Regions from separate parts of the Homo sapiens genome. Here regions 2, 3 and 4 are each linked to region 1. Evidence: promoter capture Hi-C in human tissues and cell types (Jung and others, 2019). All regions are on one chromosome and are shown on one strand. The core of a region is centred on a gene start or on the middle of the fragment in contact, and the rest is flanking DNA. Distances in the headings are between cores, read along the strand shown. Region 1 holds the start of FAM171A2 (family with sequence similarity 171 member A2). Region 2 has its middle 20 kb from the start of PYY. Region 3 holds the start of DBF4B (DBF4B-CDC7 kinase regulatory subunit). Region 4 holds the start of MPP2 (MAGUK p55 scaffold protein 2).

The links. The method cuts DNA at HindIII sites, captures the fragments that hold promoters and counts their contacts. A contact is called where the count stands out against the background at its distance.
Region 2: a fragment that was not itself captured here is called in contact with the fragment with the promoter of FAM171A2 in region 1 in 1 of the 25 tissues and cell types used here (aorta).
Region 3: the fragment with the promoter of DBF4B here is called in contact with the fragment with the promoter of FAM171A2 in region 1 in 4 of the 25 tissues and cell types used here (IMR-90 fibroblasts, dorsolateral prefrontal cortex, mesendoderm cells and 1 more).
Region 4: the fragment with the promoter of MPP2 here is called in contact with the fragment with the promoter of FAM171A2 in region 1 in 1 of the 25 tissues and cell types used here (spleen).

What each region holds. Positions count from the first base shown.
Region 1 is chr17:44,362,525-44,365,832 of GRCh38, reverse strand. It overlaps FAM171A2 (family with sequence similarity 171 member A2), which reads left to right and starts at 1,980. Exons shown (of 8, transcript NM_198475.3): 1 at 1,980-2,236. The coding sequence starts at 2,119. It also overlaps the pseudogene RPL7L1P5. RefSeq lists a silencer at 1,889-2,268. The HindIII fragment of the contact is 16,504 bases long and covers 1-3,308 here.
Region 2 is chr17:43,971,934-43,975,228 of GRCh38, reverse strand. It overlaps a transcript of PYY not described here. Among named protein-coding and RNA genes, the nearest start is that of PYY, 20 kb to the right of the region's middle. The HindIII fragment of the contact is 8,321 bases long and covers 1-3,295 here.
Region 3 is chr17:44,707,338-44,710,207 of GRCh38, reverse strand. It overlaps DBF4B (DBF4B-CDC7 kinase regulatory subunit), which reads right to left and starts at 1,543. Exons shown (of 14, transcript NM_145663.3): 1 at 1,369-1,543; 2 at 842-904. The coding sequence starts at 1,387. RefSeq lists enhancers at 709-1,222, 1,223-1,737. The HindIII fragment of the contact is 13,873 bases long and covers 1-2,870 here.
Region 4 is chr17:43,905,472-43,908,810 of GRCh38, reverse strand. It overlaps MPP2 (MAGUK p55 scaffold protein 2), which reads left to right and starts at 1,275. Exons shown (of 13, transcript NM_005374.5): 1 at 1,275-1,337. RefSeq lists an enhancer at 1,116-1,265. The HindIII fragment of the contact is 11,562 bases long and covers 1-3,339 here.

The DNA.
Region 1 (3,308 bases), core at 731-3,230:
ATTGCATCATTGCACTCCAGCCTGGGCAACAGCAAAAGACTCTGTCTTAATGATCGGTAGCTGCAACACTAGAAAAATGGCGAGCAAGAGCAAAGAAAAATCCCTTTGGTTCTAGAAAATCTCCTGAAAAAAAGGCTTACCAAGCCCTCAAAGCCACCCAGGCAAAGCAGGCACTTTTGTCAAAGAAAGAGCAGAGGAAAGGAAAAGGGCTCAGGTTTAAGCAACTGGAATCATTCCTACATGATTCCTGATGGCAGAAATGTGACAAAGTGCATCTCAGACAACTAGAAGTGAAACATCATGCCTTGGAATTGCCAGATAAACATTCCTTGGCCTTTGTTGTACACATCGAAAGAATTGATGGCGTGAGTTTACTGGTGCAGAGAACCATTGTAAGACTTTGCCTAAAGAAAATTTTTAGTGGTGTCTTTGTAAAAGTCACCCCCCAGAACCTAAAAATGCTGCGTATGGTGGAACCTTATGTGACCTGGGGATTTCCAAATCTGAAGTCTGTCCAGGAACTCATTTTGAAACATGGACAAGCCAAGGTCAGGAATAAGGAATAAGACCATTCCTCTGACAGACAACACAGTGATTGAGAAGCACCTGGGGAAGTTTGGTGTCGTTTGCTTGGAAGACCTCAGTCATGAAATTGCCGTCCCAGGGAAGCATTTCCAGGAGGTCTCATGGTTGTTACGCCCTTTCTACCTCTCAGTGGCCCGTCATGCTACCAAAAATACAGTGGGCTTCCTCAAGGAGATGGGCACACCTGGCTATCAGGGTGAACGCATCAGTCAGCTCATCCGCCAGCTGAACTAGACCCAGGTGCCAAACTGCAGTAAATTTTTATTAATGAAGTGGAAGCATGGGTAGTAGAAGCATGTGTTTTTGTTTTTTTGGGAATTTTTATCAAGTATCTTCAGAGAAGATTATTTCCAGCTTTATCTTCAAAAACTGGAAAGGAAGGGTCAAAGAAAAGACAGAAGCTCACGCCTGTAATCCCAGCACTTTGGGAGGCCGAGGCGGGTAGATCACTTGAGATCAGGAGTTCGAGACCAGCCTGGCCAACATAGTGAAACGCTGTCTCTACTAAAAATACAAAAATTAGCCGGGCATGGTGGCGTGCACCTGTAGTCCCAGCTACTTGGGAGGCTGAGGCAGGAGAATCACTTGAACCCGGGAGGCAGAGGTTGCAGTGAGCCAAGATCACGCCACTGCACTCCAGCCTGGGCAACAGAGCAAGACTCTCTCTCAAAAAAAAAAAAAAAAAAAAAAAGAAGGAGAAGAAACAGTAGCTTATGTTCATGGCAAGCACCTCTAATCACAGTCCAGTTTCCAAGGAAAAATTCCAGCGTTTTAGTTTAATGTCGGTAAGTGAGTAACTCTAGCATTTGTACAAGGCTCCCTAAGACTCCTGCACCAGTCGGCCAAGCCCAGGGACATAATTGAATTTGGAGATTCTTGGGGCCTTGTTTTGAAAAAGACTTGAAATAGGAAGAAAGGCCCAAAAATAAATGTTCACTTGTCTCTGAAAAAAAAAAATCTGTCTCAAAAAAAAAAAAAAGAGAGACTTAGGGGGGTCTAGGGGGCCTTCCCTGCTATCACCCCAGCACTGCCTAGGTGTTCTACCGGGAGAAGGGGGCCATCGAGCAGGGAGTTCTTACAGTTTTCTGAGACTTTCATGACCGTACCCCTTGAGAGTGTTGTAGGCAATATCCACTCCCCACCTACACACACACAAATTTTGCACCAAATTTTGGGGACTCTCGAAACCCAAGAACCCGGGTGATGGGACCCTAATCCCGACACTCCTTTGCAGCGCAGAGTCTGGGAGCGCAGAGCGCGGGGGCTGCGGGGTGGGCTGAAGGTGGGCAGTACCGGGGGGCGGCGGGCGGAGCGGGGCCGGGAGGGGGCGGTGCCGGAGGGCCAGCGGTGTGGCGCGCCGCCTGCAGGGGGCGCTTGCGGCGGCTCCGGTCGGAGACAATCGCGCTGAGCGGGCGCCGCAGCGGGAGCGGGAGCCGGAGCTGCGAGGCGCGGCGCAGAGCTGGGGCTGCGCGGGGCCGGGCGAGCGGGACCAGGCGGGAGCCATGGACCGCTAGGGCCCGGCCTAGCCCCGCGATGCCGCCGGCGAGTGGCCCCAGCGTCCTCGCGCGGCTGTTGCCGCTGCTGGGGCTGCTGCTCGGCAGCGCCTCCCGGGCTCCCGGCAAGTCGCCGCCGGAGCCCCCCAGCCCGCAGGGTGAGTCTCAGCCGGGAGGGGCCGCGATCGCGGGCCTGCGCCCCCTGATCAGGCTCCCGCCCGTCAGCCCCCTCTTCGCGGCGTTCGTGAATTGAGTGGTATTCTGTTCCCTGGATTCGGGTGGGGGGAGCTAAGCGATCTGGGGTTGGCGCTTCTGGGGGAAAGTGGAGGCGGGGAGAGGGAGGCCGTCCGGGGCGGGGGTCTTGGGGAGACACAATGGGTAGTGCGAGGGTCCCCAGGATCTGCGCCGCCGCCCTCTCCCTATTTGTTTTTCTCCCTCCTGGTCCGCGAGGCGCTGCTGCCTGAGCCATTGTCTACCGAAGACACCCGCCCAGGGGCGGGCTGGGGCGGGCGCCTGCTCCGCAGCCCCCTGCGGGTTGCTCGCTCCCGACCCTGGCGGGGTGGGGGCGCCGGCATCCGCTGCCACCCTAGGCCGGGACCGGAGGCTGGGAGCCTGGAGCTGGGTTTGAAGGGGGGAGGGGAGAAGGGGGAGTGGGTGAGGCTGTGGGCGGGATTGACTGCTCTAATGGGGTTCTTTGCCCTGGAGCCTGACAGCTCCCAGCCAGCCCCCCTGGTTTAGAGTTTGGGGTGCACCAAATAAATGCTTGTGAGCCTATGATGGAGGACGAGCCGCAGTTGTGGGCCTCTAAGAAAAGGGGGTACATTGTGATTCCCAGCTGAGGGAGCATGGCAGGCTTGTGGTCGTGGAGCCATGCTGAGCTAGCTGGCTGTGGGCAGTGCCGGCTGGGAGGGCAGGTGCCTGGGTCCCCCCCCATTCAGCAGGCCTCCTGGCATTCCTGTCCCCTGCCCGCCCCCATATCACCCCCTCCTCATCTCACATCTTCGCAGTGGAGGAGACCCTTCCCAGCGACTCACCGGGCGCAGGTGGGTGTGTGAGGTGGGGGTGGGGCCGGCTCCTGCAGCAGGAAAGGGTGGGGGAGCAAGACCCTGACAACACATCCCACAGGCAGGCCTGGACGCTTGGGGGCCTCCGCCCACTCCAGTCCTGAGTCCACCTCCCGGGTCCTGCTCTCCCTCTCCTGCCTGTGGGCCCCATCCCTGCCTGAAGCAG
Region 2 (3,295 bases), core at 665-3,164, 390 kb after region 1:
GAAAGACATGTTCAGAAACCATTAAGAACAGATGGTTCTGGGTTGATCTGATTTTCCCCGTTGATGGAATTATTTGGTCGGGGATAGGAGTGCCGCAACTCCTCATGTCTGGACTTCAGCAAGGCACACAGCACAATCTCTCCTGACATCCTGCAGACATGGGGTGATGTGTGGGCGAAATGGCTCAACGGCTGGAAGAATTTCTAATTAAATGAGAGGCTGCTTCTAAAGGCAATCCATGACTGAAAGCGGGAGATGGCGGCTTTGCACCACAGGGCTCTGTCCTTTGTCCTACTCTGTTGAACTTTTTTTTCCCTATCCTCCCCCCCATATTTATTTCTAATTATCGAAATAATATATGTCTGCTGTAGAAAAATATAAACTATAGCTAAGCCAAAAGAAAGAAAAAGCATCCTAATCCTCACCAGCACCACTTGCTGAACAGCCTTTTTCAATTTGCTGTAACTCTGAACATTTTTAGAATACAATGTTAGGACCCGAATTCCCGCAACAAAAGATAACTCCACTGTTCACACTGAGGGCGCATCCTGCCAGTCTCTTTATTGCAAACAATAGCAAGAAAATGTAGCACGTTATGGGGTGCTTACATTGAGCTGGCAACAGTCCTGAGCTTCTGACAGCCATTATTTCATTCAATCCTCCTAACCCTTTACGGGCACTTTTATGACCTATTTTTCACAGATGACAAAACCAAAGCTCAGAGATGAAATGATTTGCTCACACCACAGAGACTGGGTGAACAATTGACACAGGGTTTGAAGCAGGTTTTGTCGGATTCTGGAGTGGGGCTTTGAGCAACCATGGGACACCTCCCTCCAAAGGTGCCTGCGTGTTCACCTAGAACCATCCCCCACTGCCTGCCCTTCCACCCCACCCTCTACTAGTAAAGGGGGCAGTTTGTGCAGGACGGTCTGAATCTGCCTGTTGCTTCTCTTCTGCTTGCACAGTAGCATCCGGGGACACAAATGTTATGTGCGGGAAATGCGCGAGGGAAGAAAAGACACACCCACGATACCTTTAAGGGTAAACAACCTTTATCCCATGTAAATGGCAATGTAGATATAATAAGCAAATGATATAATAATAAGCAGATTGATATAATAAGCAAATTGCAATGGGAAGGGGAGAAGGGAAAAGATATTCATACTCACCAGACTATGGAGGATTCACCACCAGACTGGGAAGCAACAGCCTGGGTCGGCTCCAGAGTCGGCCACTTGTCCGTGCACAGACAAGGAAGAGGTCTCATGAAGCTTTGGCACAATCTAGGACCCTAGCTCTTTTGTAACGAGTTGTTTGGCATGAGGTCCAGGCACGAAGGCCCTTCGTGACCAGGCTCAAGGAACACAAAAAGGTCAACTTGTTTTTGCGATTGTCTGTTGTTTTTCTTATATACTTATTTATTTATTTTTTGAGACGGAGTCGTGCTTTGTCACCCAGGCTGGAGTGCAGAGGCACGATCTTGGCTCACTGCAATCTCTGCCTTCCCGGTTCAAGTGATTCTCCTGCCTCAGCCTCCCAAACAGCTGGGATTACAGGTGGCCGCCACCATGCCTGGCTAATTTTTGTATTTTTAGTAGAGACGGGGTTTCACCAAGTTGGCCAGGCTGATCTCGAACTCCTGGACTTCAGGTGATCCACCCACCTTGGCCTCCCAAAGTGCTGGGATTACAGACGTGAGCAACCACGCCCAGCTTTGTTTTTCAGTAACGTATAGGAATAGATTGAAATAGAGATTTCTCCAAAACAGCGCTGGATGAATGCCTCAAGGGGCTCACACAGCCCCTTCTGGTACTTGGTGACCATTGTTTGTGTCCATGTTCAATTGAGTTCAGATTTAATATTTAACTTTTCCTCCACAACGACCTAGGATGTGATCCCACACCAGGCACAAACCCCAGAGACTCTCCTGATCTGTCAGTAGCCACCCATGGGTGCTTACAGTAGGAGGGTGGCTTGCCTAGGAAGCCAGGAATTTATCTTTAAGTGACAAACACTTTTTAAAAACTTACTTTCAGGTTCTGTTCTAAGCACTTTAGAAATAACTTTTTTTTTTTAAATGACTTTTTTGGCAGAGTGCTGTGGCCCACATCTGTAATCCAGCACTTTGGGAGGCTGAAGCAGGAGGATCACTTGAGGCCAGGAGTTTGAGACCAGCCTGGGCAACATAGTGAGATCGTGTCTCAACAAAAATAGGCTGGGTGCGGTGGCTCACGCCTGTAATCCCGGCACTTTGGGAGGCTGAGGCGGGCGGATCACGAGGTCAAGAGGTCAAGACCATCCTGGCCAACATGGTGAAACACCGTCTCTACTAAAAATACAAAAATTAGGTGGGCTTGGTGGCACGCCTGTAGTCCCAGCTACCTGGGAGGCTGAGGCAGGAGAATCGCTTGAACTCAGGAGGCGGAGGTTGCGGTGAACCGAGATCACGCCACTGCACCCCAGCCTAGCGACAGAGTGAGACTCTGTCTCAAAAAAACAAAACAAAACCAAAAATAAATACTAATACAAATTAGCCGGGTATAGTGGTGCATGCCTGTTTGCCTAGCAACTAGGAAGGCTGAGGTGGGAAGATCGTTTGAGCTCACGAGTTCAAGGTTACAGTGAGCTATGACTGTGCCACTGCATTCCAGCCTCGGTGATTGAGATCCTGTCTCAAAAAAAAAAATGTTTTTTAAAGTAACATAAAGTTGGCCGGGTGTGGCGGCTCACGCCTGTAATCCCAGTGCTTTGGGAGGCTGAGGCAGGCAGATCACCTGAGGTCAGGAGTTTGAGACCAGCCTGGCCCAACATGGTGAAATCCCATCTCTACTAAAAAAAATACAAAATTAGCCCGGCGTGGTGACACACAGCTGTAGTCCTAGCTATTCAGGAGGCTAAGACAGGAGATTACTTGAACCTGGGAGGTGGAGGTTGCAGCAGGCCAAGATCACGCCACTGCACTCCAGCCTGGGTGACAAAATGAGACTCCCTCTCTCAATAAATAAATAAATAAATAAATAAATAAATAAATAAAATAAAATAAAATAAATAAATAACTAAAGTAACATAAAATAAAATTGACCATTTTGTTGGTGTACAGCTTTATGAGCTTTAACACATGTATAGATTCCTAGACCCAATAATGGTGTCTGAACAATAAACATTCATACACAAAAAAGAGAATTTCAACCGAAACCTCATACCTTATACAAAAATTAGCTCAAAAGGGAAAGCAATGTAAAATAATAAAACTTTAGAGAAAAGTAGGGGAAAATCTTCATGACCTCAGTTT
Region 3 (2,870 bases), core at 294-2,793, 340 kb before region 1:
GTAAAAGTAGACGGTATTTTTTTTTTCTTTTTTTTGAGACGGAGTCTCGCTCGGTCGCCCAGGTTGGAGTGCAGTGGCGCAATCTCGGCTCGCTGCAACCTCCGCCTCCTGGGTTCAATCAATTTTCCTGCCTCAGCCTCCTGAGTAGCTGGGACTACAGGCACGCCTCACCACGCCCGCCTAATTTTTTGTATTTTTAGTAGAGATGGGGTTTCACTGTGTTAGCCAGGATGGTCTCAATCTCCTGACCTCGTGATCCGCCCGCCTTGGCCTCCCAAAGTGCTGGGATTACAGGCGTGAGCAGCCGCGCCCGGCCAACTAGATGATATTAACTAAAGGGGCAGTACGGAGGGAAGTGCCATGTGCTAAAATACTTACCTAATTAGGTAGCAGTGTTTAACTTAAGGATTTTATTGTAAACAACTATGAATGTATTAATTTATATATTTAATAAGTCACTCTATCCTGACTCCACATCTGTCTGTTAATCTTGTTCATAATATGACTCTTACTTGACCTTTATCATGAATCCCAAAACGGTCTATGATGCTGCGTCCATACACACACACACATAAAACCACTAAGTGGGCCTGGTGAAGTGGCTCACACCTGTAATCCCAGCATTTTGGGAGGCCTAGGCAGGAGAACTGCTTGAGGCCAGGAGTTTGAGACCAGCTTGGCCAACACAGCAAGACCCCATCCCAATAAATAAAATGAATAAATAAGTACATAAAAACACTGAGTGATCGAAAACTCCAACAGGGGGAACATTTTTCGGTCTTCTCCAAGAGACCCTGGGGCAATTTTCACCTCACGTCCCTAGTTCTGTCCTGTTACCCACCTAGGTCCGGGGCCCGGAGCCTACTCTCAGCCATGGAACTCTCCAGCTCGAGGCAATCGTCTCCTGAGAAAGGACATAACAGCAACTCAACCATCTTCACCAACCCTTGGAACTTCCATGCCTCCCGCCCACTACTGTCTCCCAAAACGCGCACAGAAACGCGACTCCTGGGAACAGCAAGACTCAACTCCATTCCGACCTACATCCCGCGACTCCCGCCAGGCTCTTGCCCCTCATGCCCTCCGCCTCCTTTCAGACTCCGTTCAGTCAACGGCCGTGACCTCTTGGCCACCTCCTGTCCATCTCAATCTCCATACATCCCTCCAGGCTGTTGTCCCCTACGTTCCTCTGCCACCTTCATTCCTCGGTCCCCTCAACTCCTGTGGCTCCTTCCCGGCCCCTATACCCTCCTCAGCTTCGGCACCTACCCGCTGGTCACTTCCTAAGCCCCCTCCACGACTCCGCACCTCGCCTCAGCTATTAACGACCCCTTCCGCCTTTCTTTCTCCCCTTCCCGGCATCCGTACCCTTTCCCGGTTCGCTCATCAAATGCCGGCTCCTTCTCGGCCTCCGTACTCCTTCCTCAGAGGCCTCCGTATTACATTCGCGAGCTCCATGAGCTCTTCCCGATTCCACAGTCCTGGTTATCTCAGGGCAGCTACAGCATCAATCTCTTGGCGTTTTCGGCCGCGGCTTCAGTTTAAATTTCCTGCCGGCTCCACCCCTAAAAGAACGCCGTAGCTGCGAGATCCGCCCTACGGTGTCCTTGGAAGGACAATATTAGTTTCGCGATTCCTCTTTCCGTTCCCCCACCGCCTACGTCTTCTCAAACCGTCTCTTCATTTCTTGGCTCTTCACTGGCTAGACGGCTTTGCCCCTTAATGGCCCTCAAGTTGAGGACTAGTGGTCGCTTTTTAGTGATTCTTCACACTGAGCTGCATTGAAATTCCTAGAAGTTTGAATACTAAATAACAAAATAAGCCTAACACTTGCAGAGCATTTGCAGTTTACATAAAGATTTCACTTACACATCATTTCATCTTCACATTTTTGTCCCCCTCCCGTTCTTCAATTATTACCTGCCCAACAAAACTTCTCAAAAGACGTATCTTTATCCCTCACTTCCCATCTTTTCTTCAACCCATCTAATTAGACTGCTAATTAGAGATCAAATTTGATCTAATAAGAGATCATTCAGTGGAGAGCTGGGGACCTCCCCACAAAAACTGTACTTATCCAGGTCAACTGTGATTTCCACAGTCTGAAATACTATCCTTATCATATCCAACTTATAGATGGACTATTCCTTCTTTGAAATACTTTCTTCTTTTTGCTTCCATGACTCAGCACTCTACCGTTTTTTTCCCTATCTCAATGGTTCCTCCTCAGTCCCCTTTGCTGGATCCAAAGCCACTGTTCACCTATATATTTTGGAGTATGCCAACGCTTTAGCCCTTATCCCTCTCCCTTATCTCCCTAGGAGATCTCATCCAGCTCCACAGCTTTACAATTCAGCTCTGCCACACCTTCAGATTTTCTGTAGCTCTGACCTGTCTGATCTCCAGACTCACATATTCAAGTGCCTACTGGCTATTTCAATTTGGATGTCTAATAGGCACCTCAGGCTGAACACATTCAAAACAGAACATTTGTTTCGCTGCCCCTGTCAAAAAACCACCTGTTCTCCCCCCAGGTCTTCCCCTCTCAGTAAAATGTTACTGTTTACTCAAATGTCACAATCATTCACCCAGTTGCTCAAACCAAAAACCTAGAAGTTGTCTTTCAGTACTTTCCCTTGTGCCCATCCCCACTCCAAGAAAAAAATCCTACTAACTCTGCCTCCAAAGTACATCTGGAATCAGACCACCACCACCCTAGTTCAAGCTGCTATCATTTCTTGCCTAAAGTACTGCGGTCAATTCTTCACTTCTACTCCCGAGTAGCTTCCTATCTCTCCCCAGTATAATCCATTCTCCATTCAGCAACCAGAGTGATAGTTTTTATATTTATTTATTTTTTTATTGAGAGG
Region 4 (3,339 bases), core at 26-2,525, 460 kb after region 1:
AACCCAGGGACCAGTCCCCTGCTTTCGGGATAGATTCCCATTTCTGAGATTTCCAAGCAAGTTTCCAGAATGTAATCCATTTCTTTTCTTTTTGTTTCTTTTGAGACAGGGTCTCACTCTGTTGCCCAGGCTGGAGTGCGGTGTTGCAATCTCGGCTCACTGCAGCCTCAGCTTCCCAAGTAGCTGGGACTACAGGCGCGCGCTACCACGCCCAGCTAATTTTGTTTATTTTATTTTTTGTAGCGATGGGGTTTCACTATGTTGCTTGGGCTAGTCTCGAACTCCTAGGCTCAACCGATGCTCCCGCCTCCGACTCCCAAAGTGTTGGGATTATGGGAGTGAGCCACCGCGCCCGGCCAAAGATGCAGTCCATTTATGATCTTAGGAATCCAGTTAGCAAGGAAAAGGGATGACTCTCACATTTTGTTCAGGGCAACTGGACGGGGTGGCTGAACGCCGAGGTCGGAGAAGTAGCGTAGCTGGCCCCAAATGCTAGTCGCACTGCACAGAGCCTCCCGTATTTGGAGGCCCAGCATCTTTTACTAGCAGATGTGGGGTGGAGCCGGAGGCTGGGCGAAGGCGGGCCAGTGGGTTTAACCCTTTATTTACTTTTTGGGCTGGGACTCTGAGGAAGGCTAGCCAGTTACTTCTTTATTCCATAGGCAGGAAAATGGACCAGGCCTCCCTCACCTAGACCTAAAAGAGGCTCTCGAATCCTTTCAGGAAGACATTTCCTCTTTTTTGCAAAATTTCTGGAAAGTCTGGAATCCGGATATCCACCCTCTGAGTCCTTAAAAAGCTGCCCCTGATCCCGAGGCCTTCTGGGGCTGGTATCCTGCTTCCTGGGAGTCTCTCTGAAGTCCTCCTATTCTTTTTCTCAATATGGAAGCAGGATAACGAGGAAAAGTGAGGCACGCCTGGAACTAGAACGCCGGTCTAAGCCAAGATGGGTGGGCGGAGTAATCAAGCCGGTCTCATTAGGCACTTTTACCATCGCCCCTTTAAGGGATCCTTGGGAGCCGAGGGGCACCAGCGGGTACTGGTACCAGTCCTGCCTCCCTAACCCTTCCCAGTGGGACTCCAGCAGGGCGTCGTGGTCTGTGCGGTGTCTCCCAAACCACTACCTGGCTGCCCCCGTACCAGCTGCTGGGAAAGACTACTTCCTCCGAGTTGTGCCGGCCTCCGCGTTCTCCTCACCTCCCCTCTCCTCCGGACCTCCGCCCCCTCGCGGAGAGGCCTTGCCGCTTTAAGAGCCGGGCTAGCGATTGACAAGCAATAAACGCTGAGCGCCCGGCTGCGCTGGAGCCGCCCGGAGCTAGGGGCTTCCCGGGGCGCAGGTAGGCGTCCCCCGGCCCCCGGGCCAGCTCCTATCCCAAGACCTCCGCCTTCTTTTCGTCCTGACACGGCACTTAGGACCCTATTCACTGGGTTTAAACTCCACAGGCCCCTTTCACCCAGGCCCGTTCCCTCCCTGTCCACCCGCCCCCGCCCCTGGGCCCTCTTTCTGGGGTGCTGGTTGGGAGAACCAAGCCCCGCTGCCCATTGACACTGGTCCCCGCCCCTGCGGTAGGGGCTCCAAAGTGGCTTCAGGCACCAAGGTGGTGAGCTGTGAGGGGCCCCGGTATCTGCGCGGCCTCCCCGGGGGCTGTGCGGGTTGGGGGTACTTAGAAGCCCGGCATTACGTAAGAACCGTGCTGTTAGCGCTTCCGGGGGTTGGGGAGCGAGACAGAGGTTGCGCTGGGTCCCGGTGGCCCCCTGGTCCCCCTAGGCAGCTAACACCACAATCTTCCCTGGGAGGGGGTCCGCAGAAGGGCGCGCGCTGCTTCTCCCGCTTCCCAAGCTGTAGCGGGGCGGGTCGGGAGCCAGGGTTAGGGTCTGGAGACTTGGGAGGGGACCGGTGCCAGAAGCGAAGAGCTAGGGTTAGAAAGTTAGGTCAATTAAGGGGGGGGCGGTGCGGATAAAGACGGGGTGGGGGTTGGCCGGGGCAGTCATTTAGTGACCTCATCCCTGGTCTCCGGCGGGCGCGCACGTAGAGAGCCTTCTTTGATGGCTCACAACACGCCCCCCTCCCCCAGGTCCTAGCGCCCAGGGTGTTAGGGCTGGGTCCGTTGGGGCAGGGGTGATCTGATGGTCCAAGCATGCACGTCCGCCTGGCCTTTCGACCCCATCCTCTGGCCCTCAGTTCTGTCCAGACCTCCCCGCGACCTCTCGCTCTCCAAAGCGCCTTTGTCAGACCTTTCTTCTCCGCACCTCTTTGTATGTGTATGGATGGAGGGATGGGTGGGAGGTTGGAAGAAACCTCTCCCTTTCACTGCTGGTCCGCTCGCCTGCGGACACTATGGGTGATGTGGATATCTCGGAGGCAGAGCTGAGAGGGCATCTGGGCCCAGGCTTTTGGAAGCCGAGGTGCAGGTTCCCAGATGTCTGGGTGCAGGACCTTGGCACGGAGCCAGGCTAGCTTGCCTGGCACTGCCGTTCTCCTGTGGACACAGCCAGGCCCCGCCCTCTCAGAGGCTTGGACGGGCGTGGGGGAGCAAAGCCAGCCGATGCTCTGGGAACCGATTCCCCGGGAGAAAACCCAGGCAGGCTGGGCAAGACTTCCGAGCGCAGGGATTTCATACAGGATCCTCCCTGCCTTTTCCCGCCCTCCACGCTCTAGGGAAGGAGGACTTCTGGAGTCCCTTCTCTGACCCTGTGAGGGAGAGCAGCGCCAGCCAGGAGAAGGCTCCAGGTCATCAAGGCCTGGGAGGGGGAGGGAAGGGATCCCTCCTCCCTGCTCTCTAGGAGTAGAGATTGGCACCAGGGGCACGGGCCAGCACAGTGGATCCTGGGCATTTCTTCCAGCCTGGGTGTAGCCTGAATAGGGGTGCCCTTCCTCTCCCTGAAAGCACCTTTATTCCATGTCCTCAGCGGCAGAGCTGGGAGGAAAGGGAACCATCCCCCTCACTTTTGTAATTTCTGTCACCTGAGCTCAGGTGACCAGCTCAGGCCTGAGAAGGGAATGGGAGCAGAGAGGGTTTTATTGAAATCAGGTACTAGTCCTCTGGGAAGAATCCTCTTTTGGGGGGAGGTGGAGTTGCCGTGGTTCCCCCACCCCCAGGACTCAGCAGGCATTCAGTCCTAAAGTGGGCACTGCCAGATGCTTCCCCCCACTCCCCACCCCTGCTGTGAGCCACTGCCTCCTGTTGTCATGGCAACTGGGAATTAGGGTTTTATCCAGCAGCACATGCCCAGGAAGGCAAAGGGAAGAAGGGTGGGGGGTAACCCCCTGCCCTCTCCTGGGAGAACGAGGGAGCCACTCCTAGCCTGGGGAGGCCCTGGAATGGAAACTGGGGCTGT